Regions from separate parts of the Homo sapiens genome. Here region 1 is linked to region 2. The links are contacts of gene promoters, found by promoter capture Hi-C in human tissues and cell types (Jung and others, 2019). All regions are on one chromosome and are shown on one strand. Each heading gives the region's core, a stretch centred on a gene start or on the middle of the fragment in contact. The rest is flanking DNA. Distances are from core to core; before and after follow the strand shown.

Region 1 (2,700 bases), core at 182-2,681, 61 kb after region 2:
TTGCGCCATTGCACTCCAGCCTGGGTGACAGAGCGAGACTCCATCTCAAAAATAAAAAATAAAAAATAAATAAATAAATAAATAAAAATAAAAAAATAAAAACATCAGTAAAGTACTTTTTTCATCTCTAACTTGGAAAGAAATCAATATTTTAATCAACCATACAATGATGATTAAAGTCTCATTTGCACATTTCTCACGGGAACAGAATTATATCCAGGCCTTGAAAATGTATTTAAATCAACATGGCAAAACTATTAAATCATTTGGTATAAATATTCATGCAATCTTAACAATTTCCCCTCTTTGCACAAATTACCTATTTGCTGCCAATTCCAATCAAGAATGCATGGAATGCAGTGTATTAGAAAGACACTTAAAAATAATAGAATTGATTTTCAAAATACATTGTAGAGGCTAATATATAAAGGTTTTGAAAAGTTGAAAAATCATACCAGGGAACTTAAAAAATACTTTACTTTCTAGAATTTAAGCAAGCTCAGGAGTCTGATTTATTTTCATCTTTAGACTTGAAAGAACTTTAAAAAAATAAAACCAGACGAACGTGTTGTGGCTCTTTTATCCACTTAATTGGAATAAGGAGTACACAATGATCCTGAGGAGGATACACACCCCCAAAGTCCTTTTTCTGAACAAGGTCTGCATGTACTATTTACTATCCCTTGATCAACGGTGTCTGTTCAGGATAAGCTTCTCTCAGGCAAAGTTAATGGGAACATATTATAGACACATATAGCATATACTTGTGGTTTTTATGGGAACATACACCTGCTAACCAGTGCTATAATTAATTATAATTTATTTCCTCCATGAATATAGCTAGTGTGTATTCATCAGAACTTAATTCCTTCATGCAAATATTTCCTTTTATATAAGTTTGTATTTATTTCTCTTAGTAGCTTCTTTTTACTGTCCGTGTGTGTGTGTGTGTGTGTGTGTGTGTGTGTGTGTGTGTGTGTTTTCTTTTAGGATGGAGTTTCACTCTTGTCACCCAAGCTGGAGTACAGTGGTGGGATCTTGGCTCACTGCAACCTCTGCCTCCTGGGTTCAAGTGATTCTCCTGCCTCAGCCTCCCAAGTAGCTGGGATTACAGACGCGCACCACCAACATGGGTTTTGCAGCCTGTTCTTTGTTGCTTTTCTGGGTAAAAGTGCTAATACTCCACTCTTTCATTGCCCCAGCACTTTCCTTTTATATAAAGTTACCTGTGATTGTATGGATGGAGTCGAGTGGAGAGGTACTCATCATGTTAATCCCAAACAAGAGCACGTAGCCAATTACTATAGCAATAAGGAGGTAGACAGGTAATGCAACTGCCCAATATCTGCCAAAGAGAATATTAAAGTACATAATAGACACTTTAAAAAAGTTGTAATTCTCAAGAGTCGGTCACAAAGCCAACATGTTTTTTAAATTTAAATTTTATAAAGTAATATGTGTACATAAGAGACAAATAGTTCCACAAGGCTTACAGTGAAAAACTGCAGTCCTCTATCCCACCATCCCAACCCTGGGGTCTCACTCTCCAAAAAGAAATGCTTTGAGCACTTGAGCTGTCTTCTGGTACTTACCTCCTCATTGCTACAAAACATGCTCATATTACTATTTCCTCATTTTTTTCCATTACAGACATTTTCTCTAGGCTTCCTAATATGGAGATAAGGAATTAACCTCCTCCTATCCTCTTCTATACTTACATTGCAATTTCTCATTATAGCAGCAGGTTTTAGAAATAATTGTACCTACATAAACAATTTTGCAACTGAGGATCTTAGTACATTATTATTATATATTTTCTTGTACAACTTTTTTTTTTCTGGAATAATTACATCTTTTTGTCTGTTCACTTGGTTTCCCAGGAATCCACCAATACCAGAGCCTCAAATTCTCTGATAGGACTCTATTATGCCTCTCAGTATCATTATGTACATGGAGTGCTATTTTTCATTGAGTGTTTTTTTTTTCTTTTTGAGAAAGCATTTCCCTCTGTCACCCAGGCTGGAGTGCAACGGCATGATCACAGATCACTAGCCTCAATCTGCTGAGCTCACTTCAGCCCTGCAAGTAGCTGGGACTATAGGCACACACCACCACACCTGGCTAATTTTTAATTTTTTTGTAGAAATGGGGTCTTGAGATGTTGGCCAGATGTTTTTTTTTTTTTAAATGATTTGTTCTCTATTATTTTCTCTTTCTGGAACTTCTAATAGTTTGAATTTTTAACGATTATACTTTCTTATATTTTCATTTTTTTTTGTTCTAACTTCTAGAGATTACCTTTGTTTTATTTTCCAGTCTTTCAATTAAAATTTTAATTTTGGTTATCATGTTTACAATTTCCAAATACAGTAATTTCCTGTTTGCATAGCATTCTGTTCTTGTTTCATAGTTATAATTGTTTCTTACCTCTGAGAATTTTATGTTATTTAAATTTTTTTTTCTGTTTCCTGCATTATCTCTATTTCCTTCAAATTCCCTTTAATTTTCTGCTTTTTCATTTCATGCTAGAGGCTTTCTTTTAATGTCTGGTAACTTAGAGTAGTCCATTCATATTTAAAAATGAAGTGCTAACAAGTGAGTTGGAAGCACTATGTGTATGTGGGCAGGGATGGTCAACTGGTGAGCCTCACTCTGAGAGACTTGGCCACTTCACTGGGGTCCTCTAAATGTCAGAAATTA
Region 2 (2,700 bases), core at 60-2,559:
CCACCACGCCCGGCTAATTTTTTTATTTTTAGTAGAGACGGGTTTCACCATATTGGCCAGACTGATCTCGAACTCCTGACTTCAAGTGATCCATCCACCTGCCTCGGTCTCCCAAAGTGCTGGGATTACAGGTGAGAACCACCGCGCCTGGCCTAGTTCTTCGATTTTTTAACATCCATCACAGTAACTTAAATTATATAAAGTAACTACCCCTGAGGAGCCCGGGGTAGTTGAAGGCCCTCCAGCGCCTTCGGTGTTCTGTCGCAGTGCTCTACGTGTGAAACCGCTTTCTCCCACCCTGGCCGTGCGCTGGTGATGGTGGCAGCGGCGCTCCAGCGACGCCCGGGGAAGTGTCCCCAGGGTCGGGCAAGGTCGCTTCTGCTGGTCGGGAGGCCCTTTCTAAGCCTGGCTGGGGCTAACCGAAGGAGAAGCCCGCCGCTCCAGGCTTTATTAAAAATTCGCATTCTTTCCAAGGCCGCCATCGGTGGGAAGGGTGCGCTCGTAGCACCCCTCTTGCTCGGTTCCATTCCTGGCCTTCTGTCTCCTGGAAGGGTCGCCGCGCCCCACCCCACCCGCTTCGCCACGGGTTCGAGCCCTGGCGTCGGGGCGTCCGGGAGCCCACTGTCCAGCACCGAAGGCAAGGCCGGTGCACGCGGACCCGAGGATTCGGTAGATGTCCCCGAAGACCCGCTGCCGCTCTAAGGCGGTGGAAGCGAGATTCTCCGGAAACCCAGGGAATCCGATGCTCGCACAGGACCAAAGCCCGAGGCCGCGGGGACCACAGAGGGACGGAGAAGCCGGGACTCCTCACATCCCACATCCGGCAGGGGAAGCCCAGCAGGTGAGCGCAGGTCCCCCCAGTCCCCGAGGGAGTGCGCCCGACGGAAACGCCCCTAGCCCGCGGGCCTCGCTTTCCTCTCCCGGGTTCCTGGGTCACTTCCCGCTGTCTCCAGCCCGAGCTCGTGGCCCCAATCCCTGGTACCTCCATCCTCTGGTCACCCCTTCTCTGGTGCCCCCTCCCCGACTTTTCTTTGTCCCGTCCCCACCCTTGCCCGGGCCTGCCGGACCCCCCTCCTTGACACCCGGCGCCACCTCCTTGAGCTTTTCTCGTCTCCTCCCCATCCCCGGCTCCCTGGTCCCCTCCCGGAACTTCTCTGGTCCCCTCCGCTCCTCCGACCCGGGCTTTTCCTTCGTACCCTGCGGCCCCCTCCGCACCCCTCACGGAGCTCCTCGGGTCCTGCCCCCTCCCAGCGCTTGCCCGCGCCGCCCCGCCCCCGTTTTTAAACCTGGCGCGCGGGTAGGTGAGCGCGTTAGCCCGAGTGGATCTAGGCGCGCTCGTAGGCCGGCGCCGCAGCAAGGGGCGCGGGCTCCGCCGGCACCATGGAGCCCGAAGCGGCGGCCGGAGCCCGGAAGGCGCGGGGGCGCGGCTGTCACTGCCCCGGGGACGCTCCCTGGAGGCCTCCGCCACCGCGCGGGCCGGAGAGGTGAGGGTGGCCCCGCGCCCCGGTGGACGCGCTGAGAGGCGTGCGCGGTGGCGGTGCGGGGAGCGCAGCGAGCGGGAGGCTGGGGCGCTGCTGAACCCCCGATCCCCAGCGGAGCTCCGGAGCTCGACGGCGACGCCAAGCAAGCTCCTGAGCCGGCAGCCGGGTTCCCGGGAGGGGCGCTCAGTTCTCCGGTTCCAACGCACAGCTCTGAAGTGCGGAGGCCCAGGATGTAGCTGGCCAGGAAAGGGGCCGACGCTTCCGTGTAGAGGAGATCTCAGTTAGCCAGCCGGGGACACTGCAGTCTCGGGCTCCTAAGCCAGCCTTGCAAAGGCAATCTCTCACCTTGCTACTTTCTCGGTAGCCGTTTCTGTTGTCCCTGGATTGGGGGCTCGGCGTTCGCTGTCCCTGGGCACCAACCCTTTTAAAGACAGTAACGTTGTAGGAAATCAAATTAGCCAGGGAGGTAGGGAAGGGACCGGGTAGGCCGGATGGGCCAGGTAGCCAGGCAGGAGAAAGATTCCCTCTTTTTTTTTTTTTTTTTTTTTTTTTTGAGACAGGGTCTCACTGTGTCGCCCAGGCTGGAGTGCAATGGCGTGATCTCGGCTCACGGGAACCTCCGCCTCCCGGGTTCAAGCGATTTTCCTGCCTCAGCCTCCTGAGTAGCAGGGATTACACGCGCCTGCCACCACGCCCGGCTAATTTTTGTATTTTTAGTAGAGACTGGGTTTCGCCATGTTGGCCAGGCTGGTCTCGAACTCCTGACCTCGAGTGATCCAGTAACCTCAGCCTCCCAAAGTGCTGGGATTACAGGTGTGAGCCACCGCGCCCAGCCCCCTTTTTTTGTTTGTTTGTTTTTCATCCTACAACTCTGTAAAATCATCTCTGTAGAATCAATCTCCTTCCGTGACCAAGGTGGTGTGATTGAAATTAACCGGGGACAAAGTAGACAGCTATAGTTGGGGAACCCCGAATTGAACAATTCAGCCAGGATTTGCAGGGAGAGAAATCTCTCAACTAATGGGTTCCCTGATAATTGTGTGAGATTCGGGACCTCCCTTCTCAAAGCTTAACTGGAGACAGAGAACTGGGGACGTAGCAGGAGAGAAAAAACACAAATGACAGTAATTTATCCACAGCCCTGAGAACTCCAGGGAAAGTTCCTGGGGGGTCCGGTGCCTCTTTTTCAGGCAGACACTGGAACTAAGAATAGCTCTCA

The links. Contacts are between HindIII fragments. The study calls those that stand out against the background at their distance.
Region 1: a contact is called between a fragment that was not itself captured here and the fragment with the promoter of RIPPLY3 in region 2, in 2 of the 25 tissues and cell types used here (lymphoblastoid cells and mesendoderm cells).

What each region holds. Positions count from the first base shown.
Region 1 is chr21:37,066,036-37,068,735 of GRCh38, forward strand. It overlaps PIGP (phosphatidylinositol glycan anchor biosynthesis class P), which reads right to left. Exons shown (of 5, transcript NM_153682.3): 4 at 1,227-1,345. Among named protein-coding and RNA genes, the nearest start is that of PIGP, 5.7 kb to the right of the region's middle. The HindIII fragment of the contact is 4,734 bases long and covers 1-2,700 here.
Region 2 is chr21:37,005,393-37,008,092 of GRCh38, forward strand. RIPPLY3 (ripply transcriptional repressor 3) reads left to right here and starts at 1,310. Exons shown (of 4, transcript NM_018962.3): 1 at 1,310-1,484. The coding sequence starts at 1,381. RefSeq lists an enhancer at 651-1,151 and a silencer at 1,375-1,484. The HindIII fragment of the contact is 12,344 bases long and covers 1-2,700 here.